Linked DNA regions of Homo sapiens: regions 1, 2, 4, 5, 6 and 7 are each linked to region 3. Evidence: promoter capture Hi-C in 16 types of primary human blood cells and fetal thymus (Javierre and others, 2016). All regions are on one chromosome and are shown on one strand. The core of a region is centred on a gene start or on the middle of the fragment in contact, and the rest is flanking DNA. Distances in the headings are between cores, read along the strand shown.

The links. Contacts are between HindIII fragments. The CHiCAGO score rates a contact against its expected background, and 5 or more counts as called.
Region 1: a contact is called between a fragment that was not itself captured here and the fragment with the promoter of CREB1 in region 3, in 1 of 17 cell types (monocytes). The highest score is 6.8, in monocytes.
Region 2: a fragment that was not itself captured here is called in contact with the fragment with the promoter of CREB1 in region 3 in 14 of 17 cell types (naive CD4 T cells, monocytes, naive CD8 T cells and 11 more); the score reaches 16.5 in naive CD4 T cells.
Region 4: a fragment that was not itself captured here is called in contact with the fragment with the promoter of CREB1 in region 3 in 1 of 17 cell types (total CD8 T cells); the score reaches 5.5 in total CD8 T cells.
Region 5: a fragment that was not itself captured here is called in contact with the fragment with the promoter of CREB1 in region 3 in 1 of 17 cell types (total B cells); the score reaches 8.6 in total B cells.
Region 6: a contact is called between a fragment that was not itself captured here and the fragment with the promoter of CREB1 in region 3, in 4 of 17 cell types (fetal thymus, M2 macrophages, megakaryocytes and 1 more). The highest score is 9.1, in fetal thymus.
Region 7: a fragment that was not itself captured here is called in contact with the fragment with the promoter of CREB1 in region 3 in 11 of 17 cell types (fetal thymus, naive CD8 T cells, total CD8 T cells and 8 more); the score reaches 19.0 in fetal thymus.

The regions. Positions count from the first base shown.
Region 1 is chr2:206,707,253-206,709,970 of GRCh38, forward strand. DYTN (dystrotelin) reads right to left here. Exons shown (of 12, transcript NM_001093730.1): 3 at 50-251. Among named protein-coding and RNA genes, the nearest start is that of DYTN, 9.8 kb to the right of the region's middle. The HindIII fragment of the contact is 4,270 bases long and covers 1-2,718 here.
Region 2 is chr2:206,787,245-206,789,944 of GRCh38, forward strand. FASTKD2 (FAST kinase domains 2) reads left to right here. Exons shown (of 12, transcript NM_001136193.2): 9 at 693-911; 10 at 1,575-1,659. Among named protein-coding and RNA genes, the nearest start is that of MIR3130-1, 5.3 kb to the left of the region's middle. The HindIII fragment of the contact is 5,023 bases long and covers 1-2,700 here.
Region 3 is chr2:207,528,472-207,531,261 of GRCh38, forward strand. It overlaps CREB1 (cAMP responsive element binding protein 1), which reads left to right and starts at 1,491. Exons shown (of 8, transcript NM_004379.5): 1 at 1,491-1,663. It overlaps LOC124907970 (a long non-coding RNA gene), which reads right to left and starts at 1,126. Exons shown (of 3, transcript XR_007088060.1): 1 at 965-1,126; 2 at 46-142. RefSeq lists silencers at 860-1,039, 1,710-1,839, 1,870-1,919, 2,630-2,790 and enhancers at 1,060-1,259, 1,520-1,619. The HindIII fragment of the contact is 5,804 bases long and covers 1-2,790 here.
Region 4 is chr2:208,260,008-208,262,743 of GRCh38, forward strand. No RefSeq gene overlaps it. Among named protein-coding and RNA genes, the nearest start is that of PIKFYVE, 4.9 kb to the right of the region's middle. The HindIII fragment of the contact is 6,247 bases long and covers 1-2,736 here.
Region 5 is chr2:208,312,658-208,315,357 of GRCh38, forward strand. PIKFYVE (phosphoinositide kinase, FYVE-type zinc finger containing) reads left to right here. Exons shown (of 42, transcript NM_015040.4): 14 at 1,637-1,766; 15 at 2,536-2,700. Among named protein-coding and RNA genes, the nearest start is that of PIKFYVE, 48 kb to the left of the region's middle. The HindIII fragment of the contact is 3,644 bases long and covers 1-2,700 here.
Region 6 is chr2:206,984,925-206,987,690 of GRCh38, forward strand. No RefSeq gene overlaps it. Among named protein-coding and RNA genes, the nearest start is that of CPO, 47 kb to the left of the region's middle. The HindIII fragment of the contact is 3,782 bases long and covers 1-2,766 here.
Region 7 is chr2:206,767,524-206,770,223 of GRCh38, forward strand. FASTKD2 (FAST kinase domains 2) reads left to right here. Exons shown (of 12, transcript NM_001136193.2): 3 at 2,568-2,671. Among named protein-coding and RNA genes, the nearest start is that of FASTKD2, 3.3 kb to the left of the region's middle. RefSeq lists an enhancer at 2,176-2,700. The HindIII fragment of the contact is 2,931 bases long and covers 1-2,700 here.

The sequences.
Region 1 (2,718 bases), core at 49-2,548, 820 kb before region 3:
GAAACTAAACTTTGCCTTTGAGGTCACAGCGCGACGTCCACACCCTCACCTGTTGTACATTGTCGTGAGAAGGCTCAGAGTGAGTTCCGGAGCTCTGGGATGCACTTGTCCTGGGTTTTCCTCCCTGGCCTTCTGAAACAGCTCTTGGAGTGCCTGAGAAAGTTGCTGCACAGAAAGGGAGTGCTTGCGAGCTTCCCAGAAACTTGGACGCAGTAGGACCTGCTGAATCAGGGAGCTGTCAATCAAGTCCACTGTAGGAAGCAAATGAAGAATTGAGCCTTATTTTCTGATGGGAACAAAAGGCTTCAAATAAAGCAAATGTCATTTGGTGTTTTATAATTAAGACTTTTTATGGTCGCTATTTTCTTTTAAGGGGAATGAAATATGACTACTATTTGGACATATATTCCTTGTGTATACTTCAGGCGTTACTATTCTAGCGATTCATTTGATTTTGGAAAGGTGCATCTGTTAGTAAAGCATAGTTGTAACATTATTACCAGTACAGTTTCTAGGATGTTGTTTTATAGAAAGAAGTTAAAAAGGGAAGTGAGAAACGAAAAATACGCTTTCCAAGAAAGTTATGACACTGTGGTAAAAAGTTGGGGAAAACATTTTTATACTCTTCATTAAGTGGATTGAATAAATTTACCTTTCCTGTTCAAATATAGTTTTTCTTGTCTGCAGCCCAGCTTCAGAAGCAATATGGTGTGTTGAAAAGCAATTGCCGTAGTTAAATACAAAACAGTGATCTTCATAAAAGAGCAGTTACTCTTCTGTAAAGATCTTTAGGCTAAAGAGTCTGAGAATTCTGCAACTCAGTAATACCACTGTTAACAATCTTGGTTCCATCAGTATTATTATCTAGAGAAGGCACTTAATAAAACTACAGCTGCTTACAAAAAATAATGGTTTATTTCTTATACTGAATATTTTTTAACCACCTTCTCCTAAAATTTTTACAAGGCAATGAATAGAAACAAGAATGTAATAGAGCTAACCCCATAGCTTCTTGCAGAGAGAGGATGACAGACAAAATTAATAAACAGCCACTTGCACCATCTGAGAGGTGGGGATATCAAGAGCGCCAAGAGCTCCTGGCATTTAAAACGCTTCAGCCTGTGAAACCATAAAACCCTGGGTTTCTCTCTACTTCGTAAATCAACCTCAGATAAGAAATCTAGCAAGTATAATAAAAATTTTTATTTGTTCTCTGATATTGCTTTTAAGAGGAGAGTCTAAGGAACAGAGGAACAAGTTTCAGAATGTGACTTAAATAAAAACCTGGCTGCAGGTGGTGAAGGCTGTAAACTCTTTTATCGTTAAAACCTGTCACCTCAGCCAGGCATTCTGAACACAGGCCGATTTCATCTCCTGCTGAGAGTTCTATATTACACCAAACCAGATAATAGTGGTGTCCATTAATCTCACCACAAGATTTATACAGCGATGTGTCCCCGATCTTCCTATTTGGAGCTCATGTTATGCTTTATCTCAGTGTTTGGGATTTTCTGTTTTTAAATTTTTGTTTGGATATCTTTTCTAGGTAACATTTTTCAACCACTGATTTTGTGTATTGTTAATATTTCCCATGAGTGTTATTTATATTCACTGTTTCTGATGCCAGAGATAACAAAAAGTTGAAAACTGTGCATCCACAAATTACGCTACGGAACATACTCAGGCATTCGTGACTGGGACATGTGAACAATTGCTGCTAACTTTCTCTAATGGGAGAAATTCTCCAGGAAAATGCATAATTGGGGGTAAATTTTTAGCTTTTTGTTTGTTCCTGGAATAATAAATAATAGTTATAAGTGAGTTTCTTTATCTAGAGCAGTAATCTACATAAAACTGTTTTTAAAACCAAAAATTTCTTCTTCAAAGGAACCTAATACAGAAACACAGTATAAGGCCAGGCGCGGTGGCTGATGCCTGTAATCCCAGCACTTTGGGAGGCCACTGTGGGCAGATCAGTTGAGCTCAGGAGTTCAAGACCAGCCCGGGCAACATGGCGAAACCCTGTCTCTACTAAAAATACAAAAAATTGGCAGGGTGTGGTGGCTCACGCCTGTGGTCCCAGCTACTCGGGAGGTTGAGGTGGAAGGATGGCTTCAGCCTGGGAGGCAGAGGTTGCAGTGAGCTGAGATCCCTCCACTGCACTCCAGCCTGGGTGACAGAGTGAGACCCCAGCTTACACACACACAGACACACACACACACACACACATACAAGCAAACACGGTATGGAAAATAGAGAAGGATGGAGTTGTTCCTGCTGAGGATGTGGTCTTTGAATCGTCCCACCTTGCTTGCAACTCCTCTTCCCACCTGGCTAACTCTTTTTTGCCCTACCCTACATTCACATATATTTTGTGAAGCCCAATTTGAAAACCACTGCCCTATATAACTTTTTAGGCAGGAGGAAAAATATTTTTAAATGTCAGCCTTCAGTAGAAATGTCATATATATAACATAACTTCTCTTAGGTCTGATATGATAAATTTCAGAAATCATTTTACGTGAAGTGATTTTTCTTTCATGCAGTGAGAAATCAATAACTTTAGATATGCTGAATGCCTGATGTGTTTCATAGCTTGGACCCAGTTTATTTTTCACCTTGGAAAATTTTCACAGGATACATGTTTTAGTAAAAACATTTTACCTTATTTTGCCTAGATAACAGTAGGAGAAAAGAAAAGAAAAGAAAACCATACAT
Region 2 (2,700 bases), core at 29-2,528, 740 kb before region 3:
ATTTGAAGCCAACCTAAGTCAATTTTTGCAGCTGTAAACACTTGGTCACTCCTGGCCTGTGATGAGGGAACACCTGTTAGATCAAGAAACCAAATAGCCACCAAATTAATTAGTTCATTTACTCTTGGAACCAAATTAACTGTTGACTTTTAGTCTTTAGTATTAAATAAGGCAAAGCAATATTCAGGTAGATGTACAAAATTTGACGATGTGTCTGAGAATAGAGTAGTTCAGAATTAAAACATAAATAAATAAATGTTATAAAATCCCAAAGTTGAGTTGTAGAGAGTCAGTCAATAATACCACGTGCTGGTTTTTCAGGCAGTGTAATAATGGAGAAACAGCCTTGAACCTTGGAAACCTGGATTCTAGTTCCAACTTTGCCTTAATTACGAGGCTTTTTAACTTTCCTGGGCATTTCCTTATCCATAAATTGAGGAGTTTAGACTAAATGACCTCTAAAGATATTTGAAGCCTTAAAACATTATCAAGTGCAGGGCTTTGATTTAGACCCTGTGGAAACCAGGGAGACAAAGAGAGAGTCCTTGTGATAAGAAAGAGATAATTAGAAATACAAGTGCATTTATGTATATATTTATTATTTTATAACTATTACTAAATATATACTAATATAGTTTTTTAATGTTGCATTTATTTCTTCTTAATGATATACTCTCTTTTTCATCTTTTAGATGACATGAAGAATGCTTACAAGCTGCATACTTTGGATACTTGTCTAAAACTTGATGATACTGTCTATCTGAGGGACATAGCCTTGTCACTCCCACAGCTGCCGCGGGAGCTGCCATCGTCACATACAAATGCAAAGGTGGCAGAGGTGCTGAGCAGCCTTCTGGGAGGTGAAGGACACTTCTCAAAGGATGTGCACTTGCCACACAATTATCATATTGGTATGGGACATTATATGATTTCCTTTCATTTTATTGTATTTATTTTCCTTTTTTTCTGACCAAAAAAATAGGTATTTGTGGCAGCAGTTTAGTGTAGTGCAGCATTGCCTCTGGAACTGGCCTGATTCTTGCCTCATAAAATTCTTGTGACCAATAAATGAAATTCTACACATTTTTATGTGTCTAAAATCCCAAGACTAGTATCTGACACATGGTTAGCTCTCAATATATTTTAGCTACTGCTATTATCATTATTGGTAGTACTATTAAACATTTTGAAACAGAAAATCACTTGGGGCTGGTCACGGTGGCACACGCCTGTAATCCTAGCATGTGGAGAGGCCGAGGCAGGTGGATCACTGGAGCTCAGGAGTTCAAGACCAGCCTGACCAAATGGTAAAATCCTGTCTCTACCAAAAAAATACAAAACTTAGATGGGCGTGATGGCATGCCCCTGTAGTCCCAGCTACTCAACAGGGTGGGGTAAAAGGATTGCTTGAACCTGGGAAGTTGCTGCAGTGAGCTGAGATCACACTACTGCACTCCAGCCTGGATGACAGAGCGAGACCACATCTCAAAAAAAAAAAAAAAAAGGAAAAGAAAAGAAAAAGAAAGTCACTTGGAGGAATGTTTGAAAAATTAATATCAATTCTTTCCTTTCAGATTTTGAAATCAGAATGGACACTAACAGGAATCAAGTGCTACCACTTTCTGATGTGGATACAACTTCTGCTACAGATATTCAAAGGTTGCTTACATATATTTCATTTGCTGGGCTTTCTGAATTAAAATCCTAATTCTAAAAGACTTCATATTAAATAGCAGTAGTAAATCTAAGACTTGATGTTTGTATGGAGCCTGCAGCACACCAAGAGACTTGTCATCCATCAATGTACTCCTTAGAAAGTGTAAATGTGGACGTTATGGTTGAATACAATGGACTACAGTATTGGTCATTTAATGAGACAGACATTTTTTTAAAATTAGGTTTTGAAGCTATAGTTCAATAAAACAATATTAATATAATTGAAACTATCAATGCAGTGTAGACTTTGGACAAGATAATATAATAGTGATCATAAAGAATAAAGACTCGAGGCTTCTACAAAAATCAAATACCCAATAAATATTTTGCTCTACCACCAAGACTTTTCCAGAGGTAGAGAAACCGTAGTTTTTTAATTAAACTGTATTTGTATGGGTTAGAGCACATTGAAGCTAATCCTAAGTTGTTTCTTTGGCTCACACATTACAAATAGAGTGTCTCTGGGGAGAAATATGATGCTATACCATGAGAGAACATCCTGCCTCTTCAGTAGATGCATAAGATCATGCCATCATTGCACACACCCGTGGGTCAGTTACCCTTTATGTAAAAGCTCTGCTACATGGATCCTGACCCCAAGGAACTTGTATCTTCTGTTAACTCCACTGGACACACACACACACATAAATATGATAGAAACATACAAAAAAATCTGTAGGGATCCAAGCTCTTATCTGCCCATCCCTCTTCATTCACACACAGTTCTGTGACTTTCACCTCTTTCTGAATGCATCTAGCTTATTTCTTGGCCATCTTTTCAACCGCTGTCTTTCCTATTAGTGCTACCCATCTCCCCTCAGAAGAGGCTTTCTCTCTGACCTCATTCCAAGATCAGTTTTCTTTTTCGGGTACTCCGCTATTCTGGCATAATAAAATAACAGTTGTTCTCAGCATAAAGTCATGAGAAGTGAAGAATGTGAGCATTCCTTTAAAAACATAAAATTTGTCTTATAACAGCCAGAG
Region 3 (2,790 bases), core at 241-2,740:
AGGAGACTCGTTAAGGGCAAAGTCCATAAGAAAACAGTAGGGTACCTGGAGTACCAGGAAGGACAACTCTTTCTTTACAAGAGAAGTGAGTCATGGGCGGAGTCCAGAATCGAACCCTCTCTGCTTCCTAAAGACACGTCTCCTTTAAAGGACAGAAAAAGAATGATTAAGACTTGAGGCCGGGCGCGGTGGCTCATACGTGTAACCCCACCACTTTAGGAGGCCGAGGCGGGTGGATTACCTGAGGTCAGGAGTTCCATACCAGCCTGGCCAACATGGTGAAACCCCGTCTCTACTAACAACACAAAAATTAGCCAGGTGTGGTGGCAGGTGCCTGTAATCCCAGCTACTAGGGAGGCTGAGGCAGGAGAATCGCTCGAAACCGGGAGGCGGAGGTTGCAGTGAGCCGAGATCGTGCCACTGCACTCCAGCCTGGGCGACAAGGGCTAGACTCCGTCTCATTAAAAAAAAAAAAAAAAAAAAAAAGACTTGAAACCCCAAGGAGAGGGCTGCAGAGTTCACTATCAAGGAGAATGGGGACCTAGTGGTGCCGTCCTGAGAGACCTCTGAAAGAACAATTCAGTAGTTTCCAGCCACGGAAGTCCCCCTGCTGGGTTTAGGGTGCAGTGGGTGCGAATCCCTGCTGTAGAAAACAGGCTGAGGAAAGAAAGCGACACAGGATGTTGTCTGGAGAAAGGCGGGGAGGTAGGATGGGGCATATTTCCAGGGGTCCGGGCAGGTTGTGTGGCTTGGAGGCCTCCGAGGGCCGTCGACGTCAGCCATGGTCCGGGCAGAGCCCCGCAAGGTGCCACAGTATCGGGGCCAGCGCCCCCCGGAAAAGCATGCTCCGCTGGCGGCCGCCAGGTTTCTCCGCGGAGTCTCGGAAAGGAAAACCCGTCCCCACGGGGGTCCCACGACGCCCCCGGGTCCCAGGCCCCGGGACGTTGGCAGAGGCGCAGCAGACCTTCTTCCCCAGCCCGCACGGCTCCAGCGGTCCGGCCGCGTCCCAGCCCGGGCTGCCCGTCCCCCGTCTCCCGGCGGCGTCGGAAAGTTCCCGGGGCTGGCGGCGGTCAAGAGCAGAGCCAGGGCAGCCGCAGCCGCCTTCTAGCCCGCCGCTCACCGCCGCAGGGGCAGGCCTGAGCGGGGGTTTCCACCAAGTCGCCGACACCCCTCGGGAATTCCCCCACTGGGCCACACACAAACCCCGCTTCCTCCTTCAAATTTCCGCTGCCGGCTTTACCGATGCGAAAGCCGCGGTGGAGTTTAGACCACTCCTCCCGGCGCCGGGCTCAGCCCGCCTTCGCCTTCCCTCTCCCCGCGGAACCCCTTCTCGTCGCCCGAAGAAACCCGAAGGTCTTCGGCAAGTTCCGTCCCCAGCGCGGGGGCGGGGCCGCTCGAGCTGCTCCGGGCCTAGCTCGGCTGTTTCCGTGCGCGGCCGCTGCGCACTCGGCACTGGGCGGCGCTGGCTGGCTCCCTGGCTGCGGCTCCTCAGTCGGCGGCGGCTGCTGCTGCCTGTGGCCCGGGCGGCTGGGAGAAGCGGAGTGTTGGTGAGTGACGCGGCGGAGGTGTAGTTTGACGCGGTGTGTTACGTGGGGGAGAGAATAAAACTCCAGCGAGATCCGGGCCGTGAACGAAAGCAGTGACGGAGGAGCTTGTACCACCGGTAAGAGGAGCAGGAGGAGGAGGCAGGAGCCAGAGAGAGCCGGGGGGACGGAGGGGGGACGGGGAGGCGCCGGACACCCGCGCTTGGGGCCTTCCCCTCGCAGGAGGGGCCGCGGTAAAGATGGAGCCTCCGCCCGAGCCCCACAACATCGCCGCCGCTCGCAGCGAACAAAGAATAATGGCGGCGGACTGGAGCCAGCGGCGGCCGGGGCGGCAGCGACTCTGCCTGCAGCCAGCGGCGGCGCTCATGGCGGGGGGCGGCGGGCGGCGGGCGGCGGGCGGGGTGGGAGCCGGCGGCCGGGGGTGTGTGCGGGCGGCCGGCCGCGGCGAGCTGGCGCCCGCGTTCCCGCCGCCGCCGCCGGGCCGGGCGCGGAGCCGGGAACCCGGAGCCGCCCCGGGGGAGGCCGCCCGCTCGGCCCGGCGCTGCCCCCCGCGCCGCTCGCTCGTCCGGCCCCCGCCGCCCGCCTCGCCCCCGGCCCGACCCGGCCGGGCCTCCGGGGCAGCCGCCGCCTAGGTGCCGGTGGGGGATGGAGGAGGAAGAAGGCGACAGTTGAGGGCAGAGGAGGTGAAGGTGCCTGCTGCCTTCCCGGTGGCTTCGGTGCCTGCCATGCCCGCTTCGCAAGGGGAAGAGCTGCAACGTCTGACCTACTCTTCTCTCCACTCTTTGTGCAATAAAGTTCGAAACCCAAGGTTTCCTCTCGTGCTGTATTTTATTCGTGCCCTTTCCCCCCCGCTCCTACACCGTTGAGGAAATGCTGCTTTCTGCCCTGTGTTGCTTAGTTGAGAGATGAGAGCTTGTGCTTTTGGGGGGAATTTTTGACTCCCTCACCCCTTTGCTTTTTTTTTTTTTTTAAAGTCAGTCATGGAAATGCATGCTTTTTGGGAGAAAGGGTGCTAAGAAAAACATTTATAATAACTTTTTAAACTGTTGGGATCTTATAAAAGGGAAGCTGGTGTTTGAAAACAGTTTCGGTTTTAACCCTTTTTAATAAGGTAATCATCACTTGAGATCTATCATTCTGAAACACTTCGTTGGAACGAGTATCAGCCGATGTACTCTTGTTTTACATCATTTCGCGGGGTGCAACCTTGCCAACCGCGTTTGGGTCATCTGGATCTCCCCTCACC
Region 4 (2,736 bases), core at 194-2,693, 730 kb after region 3:
GACTGAAGCATGAATGGGGGGTATGGAAAGGGAGACAAGAAAACCTTTTCAAGAAGGTTGATTGTAAAGTGAAGAAAAACACTTTTTTATTTTTGATACGGAGTCTGGCTCTGTCACCCAGGCTGGAGTGCAGTGGCACGATCTTGGCTTACTGCAACCTCCACCTCTACGGTTCAAGTGATTCTCCTGCCTCAGTCTCCTGAGCAGCTGGGATTACAGGCGCGGGCCACCACGCCTGGCTAATTTTTGTATTTTTAGCAGAGATGGGGTTTCACCATATTGGCCAGGCTGGTCTTGAACTCCTGACCTCAAGTGATCTGCCCGCCTTGGCATCCCCAAGTGTTGGGATTACTGGCGTGAGCCACCACGCCTGGCGGAAAAATGCTTTTAAAAGTCTTAGTCAACATACTATTGATGTCTACATATTTTAAAAAATTATTTGTATTACTTCCATGTTGGTTGTGTTGGTTAGAATGGATTTGATTATATTGCTTTCATGTCATTTGTGTTGGTTTGTATTGGATGTTTCCTTTTTGTTTCTTTAATGTTTAAATGGCTGTGACAAATGTCTTTATCTTCCTTTTTTAAAACACAGATCAATTCTTTGGGCTACATTGCTAGAATGGGAATTATTAGATCATGAAGTATAAATATATTTAAGGTGCTTGTTAAATCCACCAAATCATTTTCTAGGGGGGAATATACCAATTTATATTTTCACATGCAGTGTAAGAGAGTGCTAATTTTATTGCATCCTAGCTGGAACTTAGTTTCATAATTTTTACAAACATGTCTGCATCCCTACTAAAAGGAATTGGTGCTCCTTTGAGAGCTGATTGATTCTAGGCCCGGGGCAGGGAAAGTTCAAGATGAGCCTGCTGGGTCAAAAAGTAAGGAAGTGCTCTCAACAAATTAGGTATAGCAAGAATATGCCTCAACACAATAAAGGTTATATATGACAAACCAACAGTTAACATCATTTCAACAGTAAAAAAGAGCTTTTCCTCTAAGGTCAGGAACACGACCAAGACATGCACTCTTGCCACTTCTATTTAACATAGTACTAGAAGTCCTAGTCAGGGCAATTAGGCAAAAGAATGAAATAAAAGGCATCCAAATTGAAAAGGAAGAAATTAAATTGTACCTGTTTGCAGATGACATGATTTTTTTGTTTTTTTTGGAGACAGAGTGTTACTCTGTCACCCAGGCTGGAGTGCAGCAGTGAGATCTCGGCTCACTGCAACCTCTGCCTCCTGGGTTCAAGAAATTCTCCTGCCTCAGCCTCCTGAGTAGCTGGGACTACAGGCATGCGCCACCATGCCTGGCTAATTTTTCTATTTTTAGTAGAGATGGGGTTTCAGCATGTTGGCCAGGCTGGTCTCGAACTCCTGACCTCATGATCTGCCCACCTCTGCCTCCCAAAGTGCTGGGATTACAGGCGTGAGCCACCACACCTGGCAGGTTACATGATCTTATACATAAAAAACCCTAAAGACTGCACCAAAAAACTATTAGAATAAACAAATTTAGTAATGTTGTAGGATATAAAATCAGTATACAAAAATGAGTACTGTTTCCAAATATTAACAGTGAACTATCTGAAAGAGAAATCAATAAAACAATCCTATTTGCAATAGCTACAAAAATATATTAAAATACTTAGAAATAAATACGGGCCAGGTGTGGTGGCTCACACCTGTAATCCCAGCACTTTGGGAGGCCAAGGCAGGCGAAGCACGAGGTCAGGGGTTTGAGACCAGCCTGGCCAACATGGTGAAACCCCGTCTCTACTAAAAATACAAAAAAATTAGCTGGGCGTAGTGGTGGGCACCTGTAATCCCAGCTACTCAGGAGGCTGAGGCAGGAGAATTGCTTGAACCTGGGAGGCGGAGGTTGCAGTGAGCCGAGATGGCCCCACTGCACTCCAGCCCGGGTGACACAGTGAGACTCCATCTCAAAAAAAAAAAAAAAAAAAAGAAAGAAATTTAACAGAAGTAAAAGACCCGCACACTGAAACCTATAAAACATTGATGAAAGAAACTGAAGAAGACAGAAATAAATAAAAAGACATCTCATGTTTATGGGTTGAAAGAATTAATATTGTTAAAATGTCCAAAGTGATCCACAGATTCAATGCAATCCCTATAAAAATTCCAATGACTTTTTCGCACAGCTAGAAAAAAAAGTCTAAAATTCCTATGGAATGACAAAAGAGGCTGAATAGCTAAAGAATTCTTGAGCAAAAAGAACAAAGCTAGAAGCATCATACTGCTTGATCTCAAAATACACTACAAAGCTACAGTAATCAGAACAGCATGGTACTGGCAGAGAAACAGACAAACCAACTGAACAGAATAAAGAGTCTATCAGTTAATAGGATGCTCATTTTTAAAAAAAAATAAAAAGTGAAAAAAAGAATAAAGAGTCCAGAAGTAAATTTACCCATTTACAGTCAATTGTTCAATAAGGGGACAAGAATACACTATAGGGAAAGGATATTCTCTTCAATAAGTAGTAATGGGTAAATGGGATATCCATATGCAGGAGAATGAAATTAGAGGCTTATCTCATACCATATATAATAATCAACTCAAATAAATTGAAGACGTTATGTGTACCCCCTGAAACTGTAAAAAACGAGAGGGAAAAGCTCCATGACATTGGTCTGAGTAGTGATTTTTTAGATATGACCCCAAAAGCACAGGCTACAAAAGCCAAATAGACAAATGGGATTAC
Region 5 (2,700 bases), core at 5-2,504, 780 kb after region 3:
CACAGGCAGATCTCCAGTTAAGGATGCTGCTTGCCCTGTGGAGTGAGGAAGAGAAGCAGGCAGTAGAGGTTAAAGAACTAACTCTGATGATAAATTTCTTTTGGACACAAAAGGAGATTAGCCTTCTCCTATTCCTTCCCTACTTAGCTTAGCTTAGCTTCCTAGAGTAAAGACATTCTTAGTCCATAGTACTCCACTGGTTAGGCCTCAGATAATGGGAGAAAATTTCTCTTCCTTCTTGGCTCCCACGGTTTCAGATCAAAGAGAGAAGGCAAGCGGGTACAAGGAGCCACTGCAGCTTATCTGATAGCTTGGCAGTGCTTCTAAATTCATCTCCAAGCATCTGGTTCGGCTAGAAGTTTACAGAGTGGCCCTTTATGTAATTGAAATGTGCAATTCTTGTACTTCACATGTCATGGACATATACTTTACTGTGTAATCTGCTGGGCTGTTTGGTGGAAGTTTTTTTGTTTGTTTGTTTTGCTTTTAAGAGGGGACAGGTTAGAGAATTTTTGTAAGCATTTCCCACTTCTTTTCTTTCCACTTATTTGGTCAGATTATTCAACAGTTATTTAGTGAACATATTTTTTTGTTAAGCATTTATTATTTATTTTTTGTCTTATCTATTTTCATTCATCCTTTAAAAAATTTAAAGATTTTACACAAATTCTACATAAATGCTATTTATTATGTTTTAATATTTATGTTTTTGAGTCTGTCTTGCTAAAATTTTGTTAAAAAACCCCTGTGCCAATATTGAAAGAGAAACACTATTGAGGATTGTCTGAATAGACTTTCTACACTGTCATCTGTTGTTTTGTGATATCTGAGCTGAGCTTCTTTCTTGAAAATTCATCACTCTCGCTATCATGTGTTCTTTTGCCAGCATTCAGATTTCTGTTGAATGCAGTTTTCAGTTTGTGATTTTTTTTTTTTTTTTTTTGAGATGGAGTCTCGCTCTGTCACTCAGGTTGGAGTGCAGTGGTGCGATCTTGGCTCACTGCAATCTCTGCCTCCTAGGTTCAAGTGATTCTCCTGCCTCAGCCTCCCTTGTAGCTGGGATTACAGGCGTGTGCCAACACGCCCAGCTAATTTTTGTGTTTTTAGCAGAGATGGAGTTTCGCCATGTTGGCCAGGCTGGTCTCGAACTCCTGACCTCAGGTGATCTGCCCACCTCGGCCTCCCAAAGTGTTGGAATTACAGGCGTGAGCTACCACGCGCGGCCCAGTTTGTGATTTTAAAGGGGAAATTAACACCCTCGTTTTTAAAAATTAAAAGGAGAAGCAAAAGTTTCATTTTATTTGCTTTTCAGAAGCTGTGCTTATAATTATTGGCTTGAGAGTCTTAGTTACGTACATTTGATTTTCACAGTTCTGTTTCTGATTTTGGCTGTTGCCAATTACTGCTCTTCTTAATTCTTGCATTTCTGTATTTTTAGTGTATTTTATGTATTTGTAAGTATTTTCTTATGCATTTTATTTATATGTTTATTACATGTTCTTGCCTTTTTACACCAATAATTTATGTTGGCTAACTTAAAACATTTATAAAGACAAAGGGCAATTTCTAAATATATGAGTAGATGGTATAAAACAGGACAATGAAGTAATAACTTCTTATTTTATATTGTACTTAGAATCCTTATTTAATCGCCGAGTAGAGGAAAAATCCAAAGAGCTGCCTTTCACACCTTTGGGCTGGCATCATAACAACCTGGAGCTCCTGAGGGAGGAGAATGGGGAGAAACAAGCCATGGAGAGGTTGCTGTAAGGCAATGAAATTTTTAATTTTAATTTTTCACTTTTATTATCTTCAGTGACTTGATAAGCATATGCATCATTCCTCTTAAAAAGGGAGGTCTTTTTCTTTTTCCTTAGAAAGTAAAAAAATACTAAGGTTACTTAGGAAATACAGTCTATTTTGACTTGTGATTAAATTTCTTATAAAACCAAGAGCCCCGGCTGGGTGCAGTGGCTCACGCCTGTAATCCCAGCACTTTGGGAGGCTGAGGCGGGAGGATCACAAGCTCAGAAGGTTGAGACCAGCCTGGCCAACATGGTAAAACCCCGTCTCTACTAATAATACAAAAATTAGCCAGGCGTGGTGGCGCTGGCCTGTAATCCCAACTACTCAGAGGCTGAGACAGGAGGATTGCTTGAACTCAAGAGGCGGAGGTTGCAGTGAGCTGAGATCGCGCCACTGCACTCCAACCTAGGCAACAGAGCAAGACTTCGTCTCAGAGAAAAAAAACAAAAACAAAAGCCCCAAACTGTGCTTGTCTGTCCCCATTTTACGTGTTAAAATTTCATTTCAGTCAATTGCAGGGGACTTCTTAGTGGAAGATATTCAGATTTCATTTATATGCAAAATCCTTAAGGTACAGATATAATGAAAGAATGATATTGACCTAGAAAATCTTATCTGTGAGCCGTAATTGAAATGTTTATTTCTTTGTAGGCTGTTTGTTTTATCATCAGAATTATTGTCTCTGGCAGTATTAACTATGCAAACTTCTTTCTTATAATATTTTTGTAGTTCAGCTAATCATAACCACATGATGGCACTACTCCAGCAGTTGCTCCATAGTGACTCACTGTCATCATCTTGGAGGGACATCATCGTGTCATTGGTCTGCCAGGTTGTTCAGACAGTCCGACCTGATGTCAAGAACCAGGATGATGACATGGATATCCGTCAGTT
Region 6 (2,766 bases), core at 249-2,748, 540 kb before region 3:
ACCATCTCCTCAATCTTCATGGCTGATATTTATGAGTTTAAATACGGCTAATGATATAACATTCCTGCCAAATAGTCAATAGGAACTATCTGGATTCAGATATTTGACCATCAGGCAAATGCTTGATTCCTTAGATTGGGGATCAAACATAAAGCCATATTTTGAAAAATAATTTAATACTGCACAACCAAAGTGGCAACGAACTTTTACCTTTTCTTTTGCCATTGTAGTTGCTGGTGTGAGGGTCAAACTCTAAGGGGAGAGAGTCTGATTAAGCTGGGGTCACATGTTTGGCTGTACCTAGGTGGTGAGAGCTTCTCGTAGAAACCAATAGCCTGTGTGGCTTATAGTCAGGACATCTTGAGGCTTTATACAATATGAAGGGTGTAATTCTTCACATGGAAATTTGGGAGCTGTTAGAAGAGAGGAATGGGTGCTGAGAAACAAAAATTCATCAAAAACACACACACACACACACAAACATGCACCCCACACACCAAATAAAGCAGATGAACAAAGCTGAGGACAGAAAAGGAAAGGAGCCTGGAGCCCAACCCCTTACCCATTATAAAAGTGTCTGGGACATTCCACGACACAGAATGGAAACCATTAATGTGACTCGTCTTCTGAAGATTTGGTATCATGAGATCTAATTTATTATTCCCCACATTTTCAGGGCATGCATTCCACACTATCTTTCCATCACTATTTCCTTCAAAAATTCTTAATGATCATAGTTATAATTTAAATATCAACTCAATATTGACTGTTATCAAAATGTGATTGTGGAAATCACTTGTGTAGTCTCAAATCTGTATGACTTTCTACCTCTGGTCTCGTGATATGATTGTACTTCTTCAACTTCTTTGAAGTTAGGTGTGACCAGGTGTTGTACAAAGAAATGTGAGTGGAAGGGTTGTACATGACTTCCAGGCAGAAGTGTTAAGAGCCAGTGCATAGTTTGTGATGCTTTCTGTCTGCAGCTGCTGTGATCAGGTAAGCACATGGTGAGATAAAGCCTGCGTCAGCCAGGCTCCCTGACTATGGTAGGAAGACTCCCCTGCCGATCCCTGCAGAAGGTATTGGGTTAAGCCACTGAGATTTAGGGATTGTTTATTACTGCAGTTTAGCAGATCCTTACTGATATATCTATTTTCTTTTACTCTGATATCATAAAAGGAGAATATCTTGTTTGTTCTTCCAAAAAGATACTTAGAATTATGGGTACTCTGTACCCATACAGAGATCATGGACTACTGGGCAGAAACTGAGGCTCAGTAAAGTAGTAAAATTAGTATACTAAACCTTAATATTTGTCTTCTCCAACCTCCTTCTGATATGGTTTGGCTGTGGGTCCCCACCCAAATCTCATCTTGAATTGTAGCTCCCATAATTCCCACGTGTGGTGGGAGGGACCTAGTGGGAGGTAATTTAATCATGGAGGTGGGTCTTTCCCGTGCTGTTCTCATGATAGTGAATAAGTCTCACGAGATGTGATGGTTGTATAAAGGGCAGTTCCCCTGCCACACTCTCTTTCCTGCCACCATGTAAGACGTGACTTTGCCCCTCCTCACCTTCTACCACCATTGTGAGGCCTCCCCAGCCACATAGAACTATGAGTCATTAAGCCTCTTTTCCTTTATAAATTACCCAGTCTCGGGTATGTCTTTATTAGCAGCATAAGAACAGACTAATACACCTTCTAAGGCAGGAATTCACTTGGCTATATCCCTACTTTGAAACTACACAGACATGGGTTTGAATTCAGGCTGTGCCACTTACAAGTAATGAGATACTAAGCAAGTGATGTAACCCCTCTAGACCTCAAGTCCCTCATTTGTAAAATAGGAGCAGTATTTTTTTCTGCCTTGCCAGATTATTGTGAGGATTTGAGATATAAAGCACGTATCATGTAAACTGGCATATAGCAACCTAGTATGGTGGTTGTTAACCTCCCTTCTCTTCTTGGACACTTCCAGAGGCAGCATAGACTCATCACTTGGTAACAAACCAGTTTCATCACACAGAACATGTCTAATTGCTAGCAAACTCCTTCTTATTCAGCATAAATCTGCCTTAGCTTCTCTCTATTAGACATTTGGTGTGCTTCTTTTACCTTCTTGAACAGCATGGACCAGTCTTAGTCTTGAATTGTAGCTCAATTGTAGCTCAGTGTTGTCCACATGACAACATCATATATCTGAACACAGCTATCCTGTTCCTTCTAGAGGTCTTCTCTCCTCTCAGAAAAACATTCTCAGTTTCAGTTTTCATAAAATTGAATTTCTAGACAACTCATCTAACCTGGGGACTGTGTTTTAAAATCTCTCTGTAGTATCTAGTAATTAGTAGTTGCTAAATAAATATGCATTCCTCTACTTCTGAGTTCAGATTTCTGAGGCCTTTAATATGACACCTAGGGCTGAACACACCTTTGATCTAACAAGCACAGAGCACAGAAGGAGCCACCTTCTCCCACATTGCCTGCTCCCTACTCTGATCTGATCTGGATACTGTACTTGTAAATGCAGCATGAGATGGCAAATCTTTTATTTAAAGCGAAGTCATGCCACAACCAGCTCATGGTCAACTAAAATTCTTAGATTTTTAATAACTAATTGTCAAGTCAGGGCTCTTCTATGCTGTTATTGCCAAGTCAATTGTTAACCTAATTAAAGAGTCTTTATCCCATTATATGTAATATTATTGTTTTGGGCACTAGGAAAGTCTACCAAACTTTCAGTGTCCTTTTTCTGTCACCTAACT
Region 7 (2,700 bases), core at 107-2,606, 760 kb before region 3:
AAGAATGAAGGGATATAGATATGTAGCCTTCTTAAAAGAGACTATCAAATGGAATGGTAGTTTCCTTTATATTTATTTCTGCATATATATTATATGATTTAGAGGCCTTAAGTTAGCTATTTTCTTCCTTTTGCTATGGAAATTTATGAAAGCCTTCCACATTTACCATCCCCAGGGTTGAGTAGTGGTGAAGAAGCTAAAGTGAGGAGAGATGCAAGATATACAAAGAAAGCCTGGGTAGTTGAAGAAGGAGAGAAGGGAAGGGGAAGGAAGAGAATTTAGTCCATGGTAGAATTGGAATTCAGGCCCAGTAGATGATACCTAAACTGATGAGCAGAATGATAGTGAAGGGGATGGTGTTTCAAGTAGAGAGGATTGCATGCCCTACTGTTCCCAGAGGAAAAGTTTGGCAAATTTGAAGAGCTGAAAGTAGTTTGGTGTAGCTGAAGCACAGAATGATGGAGTTGTATGTTTGAGTGGGTGGGAACAAGTTTTGTACATGGCGATCAAAGGAGAGGAGTGAGGGGCAAGAGGCTTAGGGGCAGAACAAGAGGCCAGAAAAATAGGAACCAAATCATAAAGAGCCTCTTACGGCTAGCTAAGGAGTATGCATTTATCCTGTAGGCAATGGGAATCCGTTGAAGAATTTTAAGCAATGGGTTGACGTGCTCAAATTTGTATTTTAGATCACTGAATGAGTGGAAGATGTATTGGAAGAAGGTTAAAATTGGATGGAGGGAGCCATTTTTAGTCTAAAGCAAGAATGTCAGTGTCCTGTTTAATGTCACTGAAATGGTGCCAAATGTAAGGAAGGAAGGATTAGCTTGTTAATCATTTATGTTTTAAGAGTGTACACTTCTGACGTATAAACTCAGTGATAATGAAGTAATTTCTTAGCCAGGTGTGGTGGCTCACACCTGTAATCCCAGCACTTTGGGAGGCCAAGGCAGGAGGATCTCTTGAGCCCAGGAGTTTGCGACCAGCCTGGGCAACAAAGGGAGACTCCATCTCTACAAAAAATACAAAAATTAGCTGGGTGTGATGTACTTGCCTGTGGTCCCAGCTACTTGGGAGGCTGAGGTGGGAATATCACTTGAGCCTGGGAGGTCGAAGCTGCCGTGAGCCATGATCGTGCCACTGCACTCCAGCCTGGGTGACAGAGCCAGACCCTGTCTGAAAATAATAATAATAATTTTTTAAAAGACAGGAATTCCTTGGGGATAATCTGGCATATATCCTGTCTTGCTATAGAATTCAATAATTGGGTTCATAGCTATGGGAAAGTTTTTAACTTTTTACATTACTGTGATTTCCATATGTCCTTAAGGAATAACTAATTTTTATTTAGTGTATGTGTGTGTATTTGTTTAAACCACAGAATATCCCTGTTTATTTGTAGGCTGTGTATTAGTTCCTATGTAGTTATTTAAAAGTGACTAATAAATCACCTTACCTGGTCAGTGATGCTCTTACTAGATTTTGGACAGATATTTGCATCGGGATGACATCTGTGTTGGTGAGGTATGAGTAGTAGATTTTTGTAGTCAAAACATCTGTATGGATGATGGTGTCTCACTGACCTGTTGGAATAATGTAAAGACATTTTAGAGGTGAAAGGACAGTGTGCCATCAATGAATTTGCCCTTCAAACACATAGACAAGTGGTCTTTTCTTTCATAGTAGATATGGATGGAATGCTGTAAAATTGTTAAGGAAACCCTTTCATAGGAAAGAAACCTTTTTTTTCTTCTAACCATAACCATTTCTTATTATTACCTGGTTCTGACTTAAGACTTTGTGATTCATTGGTTATGTAATTTTAGCAAAAGAGCTTCTCTCTCTTCAGGCTAAGTTTCCTCAGATGTGATTTTTTGTGAGGTTTATAGACTAGTGATTAAACTGTAGAGTACTGCTAGTTAAGCTGTGTTGTTACTATTCACTTTCCAGATTATGCCCACTATTTCTGGAATCAAACTTAGTACCCTAAGTAAAGGGACCTGAAAGAAGAATCTGTGGGGTGTAGGCTTCCCTTGAGACCCAGATAGCAGTGGTAGAATGTGGCAGGAGATGTGAATCAGAAGACTCACAAGTAAAGTTTCAGCTTGATACCCAGGAAAGGATCTAGGGAAATTGTAAAGGCACAACCATTTAAGGATCTTTAGAGATGGGCTAGTTACCTTCTGTACTTCAGTAGTTCTTATATTCCTGCACTTTAACTGTTTTTGCCTTTGTAATGACCTTGAATTCCAAGAAGAGGTAAAAATAATGTTTAATAAAAGTTGTTTCAGAAGCAGTGGAATATAATAAATATCAAATGTGTTTTCAGTGATAATGGTGAAGGTAAAAAAGTGTTGATGCATAAAAGGATGTGTATCAGTCAGCTGGAAAATTCAGTAAGTATGACTTTTTATTTCCCAAAGATGCTGTTTATTGTGGACTGACTGTAGGAATTGTTGGTTTGATACTCAATCGTTTTATTCAGTACATCAGTTCAGTGGTTTTGCTTGGGTAAGATAGTTTACTATGGGCTCATCACCTGTAGTGTTTTTGTAATTATATTTCAATAGGAACGTATCAATGAGTGTGATGAGATATGCCTTTCAGTTTTGTCAACTGTTTTAGAGGCAATGGAACCATGCAAGAATGTTCATGTTCTACGAACGGGATTCAGGTGAGAACTCTCTTATGCTTTCTTCATGT